Regions from separate parts of the Homo sapiens genome. Here region 1 is linked to region 2. Evidence: promoter capture Hi-C in human tissues and cell types (Jung and others, 2019). All regions are on one chromosome and are shown on one strand. The core of a region is centred on a gene start or on the middle of the fragment in contact, and the rest is flanking DNA. Distances in the headings are between cores, read along the strand shown.

The links. Contacts are between HindIII fragments. The study calls those that stand out against the background at their distance.
Region 1: a fragment that was not itself captured here is called in contact with the fragment with the promoter of CCRL2 in region 2 in 1 of the 25 tissues and cell types used here (lymphoblastoid cells).

The regions. Positions count from the first base shown.
Region 1 is chr3:45,151,720-45,158,193 of GRCh38, forward strand. No RefSeq gene overlaps it. Among named protein-coding and RNA genes, the nearest start is that of CDCP1, 8.6 kb to the left of the region's middle. The HindIII fragment of the contact is 6,481 bases long and covers 1-6,070 here.
Region 2 is chr3:46,404,617-46,410,842 of GRCh38, forward strand. CCRL2 (C-C motif chemokine receptor like 2) reads left to right here and starts at 2,643. Exons shown (of 2, transcript NM_003965.5): 1 at 2,643-2,886; 2 at 3,452-4,907. The coding sequence starts at 3,464. The coding sequence ends at 4,498. CCR5AS (CCR5 antisense RNA) reads right to left here and starts at 2,450. Exons shown (of 4, transcript NR_125406.2): 1 at 2,281-2,450. The HindIII fragment of the contact is 5,778 bases long and covers 2,279-6,226 here.

The sequences.
Region 1 (6,474 bases), core at 1,580-4,079, 1.3 Mb before region 2:
TGGTGGCACATGCCTGTAATCCTAGCTACTTGGGAGGCTGAGGCAGGAGAATGGCTTGAACCCGGGAGGCGGAGGTTGCAGTGAACTGATATCGCACCATTGCACTCCAGCCCGGGTGACGGGGCAAGACTCCTGTCTAAAAAAAAAAAAAAAAAAAAAAAAGAGAGAGAGAGAGAAAGAAAAGAAAAGAAAATCAGGTGTGAAAACGATTACTGTGTTTAGACTGAGGAAAGAAATCTCAATGAATTACAAATGGAAAAATATCACAAATGTTCCAAAATCCAGAAAAAATAACATAGTATTTTTACTGTTAATTGTCTGGTTCAACTCTAAGTCATTCTCCAGGTCATTTTGCAAGATGCATCAGATAAGATGCAACTGATATGTTGAGATCCGTAAGACCTGTGAATTCACATGCAGAAATACTCACTGTCCATAGAACCATTATAGTTTTGTGCCCTACAAATACAGAAATTCCTATAAATTCCATTTGTGTGATTCCTATTAAATATAAAGATCAAAATAGTATAGTGCATTCAAAATTATACTGCTGATTACCAATTTGTTTCTGACAGAAAAAAAAGCCCATCATTTTTGATAAGCCATGATGAGTTGCATGTTCTGCTTAAAATTTTAGCTTTGATAATTGGAAAAATTTTCCACAGACTAGCTTCTTCCGGATCTGTACATTTCACTTTATTCCTCCTCCTCCACTGTGCACATACTCTGGGTGTTGGACACTGTAGCACAGGTTCATAATGTAATATCACCTCTGGCCTTGCTCCTTCTGGTCACCTTACCTTGTGAGTCAGCCCAGTGGATGGGAGGAGTATTCCTAGAAGCCATTACTACAATGTGAGAACAAGCAATGGCTTAACTATACATGAATGTGACCATGAATCAAATAAATATATCCCACCAGACCCCAATTATAATAAATGTATGTCTGAGTTAACATCCCTTTAGCCTGATCCCAAAATGCCCACAGCCAATCAATGCTACATTGTATAAGGGGAAGTTTGATGGAAAGAAAGTGGAGGGAAGGCTTTTTTTGGCAGTCAGAATACGTGCCTTTGCAAATTTGACAAAGACCTATGACCAGGGAAGCACACTGGAGCTTTCTTAGCTTCTTTGTGTACTTGCCTCTAGATATATGAAGTACAGATACAGCCCAAGGGAGAGTCAAGGAACTCCCAGGGTGATGTGCCCCAGACTTAGAGAGCCCAGCATCCAGACTGAGTCAAGCCATAAACACATGGCCAACTACACTGGGCCCTGAATTCCGTAGCCACCCTTCTCTCCTGAGTGAACAGATGGGCGGAGTTAAATCAAATGGAGCCATTGCTTTTAGTGATGAGATTCTCAAATAATAATGGTGCTTGGTTAAGACCACCCCCCCCCCGCCCCCGACACAAACCTGTGCTCTGCAAATGCCCTTGAGCCACGTACACCTGAACAAGCACAGAGAAGGAGCCTGCACCAGCCCTGGATACCTACCTAGCTTTTTACATGAAAGAAGAATAAACGTCTCTTTTTTAAGCTTCCAGTCACTTGTGCCTGAACCCCATCCTAAGGCAGGCTTAGGAGATTTTTCTGCTGCTATGGAAAATGGAAGGGAGAGCAAACCCATGTGATTCACTGCAAATAAAGGACTTGACCTAAGTGGGTAAGATGGAATGGCTCAGCGACTATGAATGTGCATTCTGCAGTCAGATGTCCTGGATTCAAATACTGTCTCTTGCCGGGTGCGGTGGCTCACGCCTGTAATCCCAGCAATTTGGGAGGCTGAGGCAAGCAGATCACCTAAGATCAGGAGTTCAAGACCAGCCTGGCCAACACGGTGAAACCCCGTCTCTACTAAAAATACAAAAATTAGCCAGGCATGGTGGTATGATCCTGTAGTCCCAGCTACTCAGGAGGATGAGGCAGGAGAATCACCTAAACCCGGGAGGTGGAGGTTGTGGTGAGCTGAGATTGCACCACTGCACTCCAGCCTGGGTGACAAAGCGAGACTCCATCTCAAACAAAAACAAAAACAAATACAAATACTGCCTCTGCAACTTTACTGGCTTGTGCCAACTCCTTTCACCTACATGTGCCTCACTTTCCTCATCCATGAACTGGGTCCATGAATCGGGTGTTGTAAAGATTAATGAGGTAATATATGTAACACATTTAGCACAGTGCTTGGCACATAGTAAATGCACAGTAAAGTTAGCTGAGATTGCCTGTGTTGTGAGCAAGGGATGAAAGGAGTGGGTATTAGCTTGGTGGGGAGGTAAGCTATGGAAGTGGAGTGCAGAGTTCTGGAAAGAGAATGCTACAGACAAATTTCTTCATAGTCTCATTCAAATCTGAAAGTGTCAGCTCCTCAAGGCAGGAAGCTGTGTCTGTTTTATTCATCTTTATATTTCTGGAGCTGAAGATAAGGATTGAGTAAATGCTTAACAAATAGTTGGGGAATGAATGAACTCATTAGCCAAGGATGTGTGGATTACCCCACCAACTGGGCCACTGAGCCCAGGGAGCTCTTTGAAACTTGTGACCCTGAAAAGATGAATGCACAGCTCATTTTAAAGAGGGGGTAGGGCCCCTGGTCGAATGCAGTCATTGTGGCCATGTTGGGTGTCTAGCAGCCTCCCTTGCCTTGTAGGATGGGCCAGAGTCCGGTGGGCCAGGACTTTATCCAGTTTGAACAGAGGATGGACAGAACATCTGTCCAAATCAGGTAACTTCTCCGAAACTTTCCTTTCCGGTGATTAAGCAAGTTAATAAAGTTGAGATTCTTTCAGTGCACAAATAGCTCTTAGTGTCACTGTCAATGTCAACTACTGTTTGAGGGAGAAAACTTCCCATTCACAGTTTGAGCAGAGCTTCTTTGTGAGCCTCAAAACAGAAGAGTTTGCCATTGTCTCAGGATGAGATAGAAGTTCCTTGGGAATGACTGACTTTGCCAAGTAATTTGCCCAACGTTAACCACTTGGTATAATTTCAGTCTTAGAATGAGTAAGACAAATAACAACAATCCTTGCAGAGCAGCTAGTCATGCCGCCACGGATGGAGTCTGAATGAACTCAGTTCTGCATGACTCAGGAACTCGGCAGCAGGTAGCTGAGCACCTTCTGAGGTCACCCCAAAGCGACCAGAGGCCTGGGATCCATGCACCATCACCTCCTCAAACTGTACCATCTAAGATATCAAGTTGAAATGCCCAGGGGCAAAAAGAGAGGAAGAGTATAGATGTCTACTCCTTTCTTAAGCTTGTGCAACCAGCTCTCAGTAAGTCACTTGCCCACAGGGTAGAGAGAGCCATACCCTGCCCATCCCTGGAGTCTGCATCACCCTCGGATATGATCCATCCCCATGTCAGGCCTCTGCTTGCCAGCCTTGCTTCTTTCTTTTCTGTGTGTTTCCTTGAAATCTGGGAGGAAAAGAGCTTTAGTCGTGCTCTCAGGGATTTTCCTCCCCCTGGAGAGGGAATTGAGTCACATCATTGTTGAGCAGGAGGACTTGGAGCTCATCTGGTTGACATCTCCCTGATGGACGCAGGCCTGGAAAGGGTGACACAGTTGAGTCAAATAGCAGGTGACCTTCAGAGCAGAAGCCAGGTGTCCATCCAATAGTTCATGAGCTTTCCTTTCTGAAAAATCTTGGTTCCTGGCTGAATGCTCTGGCTTGTGCCTATAATCCTAGCACTTTGGGAGGCTGAGGCAGGAGGATAGCTTGATGTTAGGAATTTGAGACCAGCCTGGGCAACATAGTGAGATCCTGTCTCTACAAATAAATTTTAAAAATTAGCCAGGTGTGTGCCTGACCCCCTTTTTAAAAATTGTGGTAGAATATGTATATAACATAACATTTGCCATTTTAACCATTTTTAAGTGTGCAGTTTAGTGGCATTAGTACATTCATATTGTCTTGCAGCTGTCACCACCATCCATCTCCAGAGCTTTCCCTTCTTCCCGAACTGAAACTCTGCAACCATTAAACTATAACTCCCCTTCCTTGCTTCCCTCCAGCCCCTGTCATCCACCACTCTACTTTCTTTTTTTTTTTTTTTGAAATGGAGTCTCGCTCTGTTTCCCAGGCTGGAGTGCAGTGGTGCGATCTCGGCTCACTGCAAGCTCTGCCTCCCGGGTTCATGCCATTCTCCTGCCTCAGCCTCCAGAGTAGCTGGGACTACAGGCGCCTGCCACCATGGCCGGCTAATTTTTTATATTTTTAGTAGAGATGGGGTTTCACCGTGTTAGCCTGGATAGTCTCAATCTCCTGACCTCATGATCCACCCACCTTGGCCTCCCAAAGTGCTGGGATTACAGGGGTGAGCCGCTGCGCCCAGCCTCTACTTTCTGTCTCTATGAATTTGCCTATTCTAGGTAGTAAATGGAATTGTATATTTGTCCATTTGAGACTGGCTTACTTCACTTAGCATAAGGTCCTCCAGATCCATCCATGTTGTCGCATGTCACAATTTCCTTCCTTCCTAAAGCTGAATAATATTCCATTGTGTAGATACACATACACACCACAATTTGTTTATCCATTTATCCATCAGTGGACACTTGGATTGTTTCTACCCTTTAGTTATTGTGAGTAATGCTGCTCTGAACCATGGTTGTACAAATATCTCTTCAAGATGCCGTTTTCAGTTCTTTTGTGTATATACCCAGAGTAGAATTGCTGGATCATATGATAATTCCATGCTTAATGCTTCGAGGAACCTCATATGTACTCTTTTTAAAAAGCATAACTACAATGCCATTGTCACACCTACAAATGAATGAATCATGACTCCTTAATCACATTTAATGTCCAGTCACTGTGAGGTTTCCAATTGTCTTATCAATGTTATTTTTAAAATATTTTAGGCCAGGCATGGTGGCTCATGACTGTAATGCCAGCACTTTGGGATGCTGAGGCAGGAGGATCGTTTGAACTCAGGAGTTCAAGACCAACTTGGGCGACATGGTAAACCCTGTCTCTACTAAATACAAAAAGTAGGCAGGGGTGGTAGTGTGTGCCTGTGGTCCCAGCTACTAGGGAAGCTGAGGTGGGAGGATCGCTTGAACCCCAGGAGGTGGAGGCTGCAGTGAGCTGAGAACGCACCACTGCTCTCCAGCCTGGGTGACAGAGCAAGACTCTGTCTCAAAAGATAAATAGATAAATAAATAAATAAATAAATAAATAAATAAATAAATAAAAGTTTCATTGTTTGAATCAGAATCCAAATAAAGTTCCTATATTACAATTGGTTGGTATGTCTTTCTAAAAAAATAAACTTAATTTTGGTGTCATATTTACAGAAAAACTGCAAAGGTACTACAGAGAACGCTCATGCACTCGTTCGCTAGCTAGTTCTAATGTCAATATCTTGCATATTACTGTATATTTGTCAAAACTAAGAAAATATTATCAGCACTTTACTATGAGCAAACTCCAGACTTTATTCAAATTTCACTCCTTTTTCTATGAATGTCCTCTTTCTGTTTCAAGATCCCATCCAGGACCCCACACTGCATTTAGTTATTGTGTCTCAGACTCCTCCCATCGGTGACAGGTCCTCAGGTTTTGTTTTTCATGATCTTGAAAATTTTGAGGCGTCGTGGTCAGGTATTTTGCAGAGTTTCCCTCAATATGGGTTTGTCCAATATTTTTGTCATGATTAGCTGGGATTAAGACACTTTGGGAAGGCCAGGCATGGTGGCTCACGCTTGTAATCCCAGCACTTTGGGAGGCTAAGGTGGGTGGATCACTTGAGGTCAGGAGTTTGAGACCAGCCTGGCCAACATGGCAAAACCCCATCTGTACTAAAAATACAAAAGTTAGCCAGGTATGGTGGCGCATGCCTGTAATCCCAGCTACTTGGGAGGCTAAGGCACAATAATTGCTTGAACCTGGGATGTGGAGGTTGCAGCGAGCCAAGATTACACCACTGCACTCCAGCCTGGGTGACAGAGCGAGACTCTATCTCAAAAAAAAAAAAAAAAGGGGGGACTATTTGGGAAGAATTTCACAGACGTGATGTGCCCTTCTTGTCATAGTGCATCAGGGGTACATGATGTCCCCACAGCATCTCTGGTGATGTTAACCTTCATCACTTGGTTAAGGTTGTGTCTGCTAGGTTTCTCCACTGTTAAGTTACTAAATTTCACCTTTCCATACTCTGTTCTTTGGAAGTGCGTCACTAAGTCCATGATATGTCTGTAAATCTATTTTAATTTATAAAATAAAGTCTGTATAGAGGGGAACCTTCTCTTTCTATTTTTTTTTTTTTTTGAAATTTACTTGTTGAGGAAATCAGGTCATTCATTTGTCTCGTACTGTGTCCTGCAGTCTAATGTCATTTTACATCTTCCCTTGCCCTCTGTATTTCCTGTAAGCTGGTATTTGGAGCTGGAGGCCTGATCTCCTTCCTGTTTTATTCCTTCAGCAGGAACAATTCATGAGTAGAGTTGTGGACTTCTGTCAGGAGGC
Region 2 (6,226 bases), core at 1,393-3,892:
CATGAGCCACCACAGCCAGCTCTCAGCAAGGCTTTTTCTGACTACACTATTTAAAATGTGATCCCTGAGCCACCTTGGCCTCTCTTGCTGTCCTTCCCTGCTTCGCCTTCTCCATAGCACTTCTCTCCTACTAATCTACAATTTACTTGAGCTCTGTGAAGGTCAGGATTTTTGCCTATTTTGTCCATTGGTGCATCCCCAGCACCTGGAACAGAGCTAGGCACAGGCTAGGCACTCTAGAAATACTTGCTGAATAATTGAATTAAGTAAATGAGTGATCTACACGTAGTGGGGAATGAGAGTATACAGTGATAGTTCCTTCGACTAAAACTGGGGTCAAATTATAGTGATAAAGAGGAACTCAGACCTTCAGAGGTAAGCTTTGTGGACCACTTGCCAAGGCTGCAGAATGTGATGTCGTTTCACAAACAAGGAGGCCCTATTATGGCTTCAGATATGAGAATAATAAAGAGAACTTTCCTTTCGCCTCAACTGCAGCCTTCTAAACTCTTCCTTCCTTCCTATGTAGAAGTTTCAAGGACCTCATGGCCTGAGTGTGGATAGGCAGAATGCTGGGAATCAGGCAAAAATAAAATAATACTGAAAGTGAAGGTCATGCTAATATTAGTAAGCCAGGGTGATCCTGAATTTACAAAACATTTTTCTTTGGGAAATTTCACACCTCACATGATTCTGTGTTTTTACTTGGGAAATTTCACATCTCACATGACTCTGTGACATGCGGTACATGAGGTGCCTGACTGCTGTTTTTGTCCTCTACTAATGAGGAAGAGTGTGCGTACTCCCAGCGTTTTGCAAGTTTCAAAGTCTGACTTGACTTTCCTTCCTTTTCCTGGAACTGATCCATGAGTATCGAGAGTAAAGCTGCCCGCACCTACTCATTCAAGATCCTGAGTGTCCTGCCCAGCTGCAGGAGGTGGAGAGACCCAGGAGGAGGGGCCACTGCTGATCCCAGGCTGTAGGGGGTGGGAAGAGTGTCCCAGGGCACCATGACCCCCACTCACTCACTCACAGGAGACCCACACAAGAGAGGAGAGGGCACTTACAGCTTAGGTTCCCACCAGCACCAACTCCTCTGCCATCAAACATCATTGTGTTTCTCTTTCTGCCTTGTCTGTCGGCACACGTGGAGTTAAATTTAATGCTCAATCACATATTTGTCTGGGCTCTTTCTGTGTTTATTTTTCTCTTAATAGTTCTCTCTCCTCCCTTCCTCTCCCCGCCCCTCCTCCTCCTTCTTCTTTTTTTTTTCCAGAGACAGTGTCTCGCTCTGCCACCCAGGCCAGAGTGCAGAGTGGCATGATCATGGCTCACCGCAGCCTCCAACTCCTGGGCTCACGTGAACATCCCACCTTGGCCTCTGGAATGTCTGGGATTACAGGCACTTGCCACTGCATCTGGCTAATTTTTATATTGTTTATAGATCCGGGATCTCACTATGTTGCCCAGGCTGGCCTCAAACTCCTGGGCTCAAGCGACCCTCCCACCTCATACTTCTGAGTAGCTGGGGCTGTAGGAATGCGCCTCAGTGCCAGGCTAGTTTCTTAATTTTCTATTTCTATTTTGACAGGTACAAATTTTGTATTCAATCCTACCTCAGACACATCTTTGGTGGGAAAAGGATGTCATTTAATCAATATATAAATTCTAAGCAAATAGGTCTGATCCCCAAATTAGGTTAGTCACAGCTGCTGAGTCGTTGACCCAAGAGAAGCTCATCTAGATTTTTTCATTATTTTCAAGTTCCTCTTCTCGGTTCGTCCTTCTTCCAGACCGTGCCCTCCCCGTCCCACTCTCTTCCCACAGCCTCCCCTCCCCACAGCCTCCTCCCACCATTCCAAATCTGGGCTGTTCTCTCAATTTCCTTCTCTCTGGACTCAAACCTACCCTAGCCCCCAGCCTCAGTTTGGGGTTAAACTTGTCCTCCTCACATTCTCTCCCACCCAACTTGATGTCGCCTCTGTGTCATCACCACGGGATTTTCCTCCTCTGGGTTCTCCTTTTCCGAGTGGGGTCAGCTCCCCCATGAGTCACAGCACCAATCACTTCTGGCTGCTTGCAAACCCCTTTGCTTTCCTCAGTGTTGACACCCAGGGCAGCCCTATGCTCACTGCCGCTGAGACCCCACCTCTGCCCCTGGCCTTTTCCCAGCTGACATCACCCTGTGGCTTCCATTTTCCTAAAATTCTCTTTTGAGGCCTCAGTCTTAACCAAAGCACACAGTGCCCCTCAAAAATGACAATAAAAACCCAAACACACCGTGACTGTCATGGCAGGTTCCTGGTCCCCGTATTGAATCAGCGGGTGGGTTTCTGCGAACACTGGTGAGAGGCCGCATTAGAGGGTCAGGACCCTCAGGTCTGGACTCGTGGTCACCACATACCTTCCTCCCTGCTGACAGTAGCTGGTACCTGTTACCTACTCAGAGTGTCACATGCCACAAGCCAGAGCGTCTTGGCAGTTCTCAGCACCTTGACATCACTTCCTTGCTACCACTCAGAGCGGCAGTGACACAGTTCCCTTATCTCAGAAGGCCAGAAGACGGCTGTCAAAGGTCACAGGGAAATCAAAGGCGGGGTACAGGGCCAGAGGGAGGAGGAAACAACTTCCCGGTTGCTTTCAGACGCTTCAGAGATCCTCTGGAGGCCTGGGGGAGCTTTTGAGTACTTTATTTCAGTTGGTCCCTGAGCTCGGTGAGTGGGGCGGGTAGAGCCACCAGGGGAATCAACAGTGGTTTCTCGTGCCCCTCAGGGTCAGGAGCAGTCTGATCAAAAGGAGGGCATCCACTGTCCGGGGCCATTCCCACAGCTCCCGGATGCTGGGTCTGGAGGCTGCGCCCTTCCCCTGCAGGAGCTCAGCCCAGTGGTAAGTCATCTGTGTGTCATCTATGTATTTAACCCCTTATGGCCATGTTGATGCTGAGCATGGTTTCACTTTTGCAAACATTTATTTATACCCTTCGAGAGAAAAACGTCTCAGCTGTCACAGGAAGCTGCTTCGGGGGGTGAGCAAACTTTTTAAAATGCAGAAATTATGATCTACACCCGTTTCTTAAAAGTAAGCCATCGTACTTGGTTCTCTTTAATTATATATTTTCTTACATATTGTGTTCATGTAGGCAAGTCCTGTTTCTGCTAAAAGAAGGTAAGTTCTACCAAGGCGGTGTCATGCCAGCTTTATTTCCCGTGGCACCTGGCACACTGCTAAGCACTTACATGCTTAACAACTAGATTGGGAATGGTGCTGCTCTGGGGAAGTGGGCACACGTTAAAGAAATGTTTATTTCAGTCTTCTGAAATAGGGAATTACTCTGGCTAAAATGTAGCTCCAGAAAGGGAAAGTGGGGCTGTATGAATCCAGGTCCAGTTTGTTGTTTCCTCCAGGATAAGGCAGCTGTCGGAGGGGAAAATCATCTCCCATTTCTCCACAGGGCAGTCTGAAGATGGCCAATTACACGCTGGCACCAGAGGATGAATATGATGTCCTCATAGAAGGTGAACTGGAGAGCGATGAGGCAGAGCAATGTGACAAGTATGACGCCCAGGCACTCTCAGCCCAGCTGGTGCCATCACTCTGCTCTGCTGTGTTTGTGATCGGTGTCCTGGACAATCTCCTGGTTGTGCTTATCCTGGTAAAATATAAAGGACTCAAACGCGTGGAAAATATCTATCTTCTAAACTTGGCAGTTTCTAACTTGTGTTTCTTGCTTACCCTGCCCTTCTGGGCTCATGCTGGGGGCGATCCCATGTGTAAAATTCTCATTGGACTGTACTTCGTGGGCCTGTACAGTGAGACATTTTTCAATTGCCTTCTGACTGTGCAAAGGTACCTAGTGTTTTTGCACAAGGGAAACTTTTTCTCAGCCAGGAGGAGGGTGCCCTGTGGCATCATTACAAGTGTCCTGGCATGGGTAACAGCCATTCTGGCCACTTTGCCTGAATTCGTGGTTTATAAACCTCAGATGGAAGACCAGAAATACAAGTGTGCATTTAGCAGAACTCCCTTCCTGCCAGCTGATGAGACATTCTGGAAGCATTTTCTGACTTTAAAAATGAACATTTCGGTTCTTGTCCTCCCCCTATTTATTTTTACATTTCTCTATGTGCAAATGAGAAAAACACTAAGGTTCAGGGAGCAGAGGTATAGCCTTTTCAAGCTTGTTTTTGCCATAATGGTAGTCTTCCTTCTGATGTGGGCGCCCTACAATATTGCATTTTTCCTGTCCACTTTCAAAGAACACTTCTCCCTGAGTGACTGCAAGAGCAGCTACAATCTGGACAAAAGTGTTCACATCACTAAACTCATCGCCACCACCCACTGCTGCATCAACCCTCTCCTGTATGCGTTTCTTGATGGGACATTTAGCAAATACCTCTGCCGCTGTTTCCATCTGCGTAGTAACACCCCACTTCAACCCAGGGGGCAGTCTGCACAAGGCACATCGAGGGAAGAACCTGACCATTCCACCGAAGTGTAAACTAGCATCCACCAAATGCAAGAAGAATAAACATGGATTTTCATCTTTCTGCATTATTTCATGTAAATTTTCTACACATTTGTATACAAAATCGGATACAGGAAGAAAAGGGAGAGGTGAGCTAACATTTGCTAAGCACTGAATTTGTCTCAGGCACCGTGCAAGGCTCTTTACAAACGTGAGCTCCTTCGCCTCCTACCACTTGTCCATAGTGTGGATAGGACTAGTCTCATTTCTCTGAGAAGAAAACTAAGGCGCGGAAATTTGTCTAAGATCACATAACTAGGAAGTGGCAGAACTGATTCTCCAGCCCTGGTAGCATTTGCTCAGAGCCTACGCTTGGTCCAGAACATCAAACTCCAAACCCTGGGGACAAACGACATGAAATAAATGTATTTTAAAACATCTATTTAATGTATTTTAAAATAATTTGTAAGTTGATTTTAAAACCAATTTAACTACATTCCAAATTATAGACAGCCCATTTATATGGGAGTAACTTTTCAGGCTCATTGCCTCGCCGGTGATGAGAAGAACTAGCTAGCTGGAAGCTGTGGGAAAAAGAGGTAAGGTAACTTGTTCTGTCGAAGTTCTCTAAATTCTCTTGCTTACTTGCCACACCCCTAGGCCCCCAGCTTCCCCTAACCCAAGGTTTCTGGTATTTTCTCGTACTTTATCAAGACTATGGAATCTTAGGAGACTTAACAAAAGCAAATGAGAAATTATGTTTAGAAATGTCTAACAAAATGAATGCTTTGTCCTTTTAAGTATAACACATACCTCAGGCCTCACCAGCACATAACTACAAAAGGTTGTCCCACTTCCTTTCTGTGGCTGAGTTAGTAGAACACAGGCTCCCACCTGCCACATCAGCAGAAGGTCACCTCAACATGTGAGCTACCTCCCCGGAGACCCCCCAGATCCGTAAGGATGATGCATCCTTGATCCTAAAAACATTTTCCTGTTCCTGGTGTTCAGAATTGGACTCCACACTCACTGGTCTCTTTATAATCTTGCTTCTGGCCCTTTGAGGCCTCAAAGCTACCAGGGCCTTGCTGCCAGGGGACAATCACCACTCCCGGCTGAGTCCTGCAGACATAGGGCCTGGGCTGGCTGCCTCCTCCTGCTGGCCCAGCATCTTGCTTGCACTAAAGAGAGCTGGAGGCTTGGCACTGATGCTTGCTAAAAACCTACCCAGGCCGCCCACTGCTGCCGCACTGCAGGGCACCAGCCCACACTCCTCCCCTCCTGGCATCAGGCACACGTTCACGGCACTAAACCTTACAGGAAAGCAGTGGAACCCTGTCTTTCCTTCACAGGAGGCACTTTCCTTCCTAGGCAAAAACGATGATACCCATGGGCACAGCATCTCACATAGGGACACATAGAGATGTCTGACTCATTAAAACCCAAGTCTCTGGCCAATTAAAAGGGGTCCTTAATGTCCTACTCAACAGTGGTGGAAGGAAATTTGCTCTATATTGATGAAATGAGGTGGAGAAAATCTGATTTTCCAAACATGAGAATTCTCCATATGCCACCCCATAACCAAAGACCCCTTATTTGTGTTAGATGAAACATTCAAAGAGCCTATTAGGATAGCGGATGAGACCCCCAAGGGACATGCTTATACAACAATAACTGGCTCCAAACCACACTCCATGGCAGTGGCTCTCAAATGCCAGCTCACATCACAAGCCCTGTGCTAAAACACAGAGTTCTGGGCCC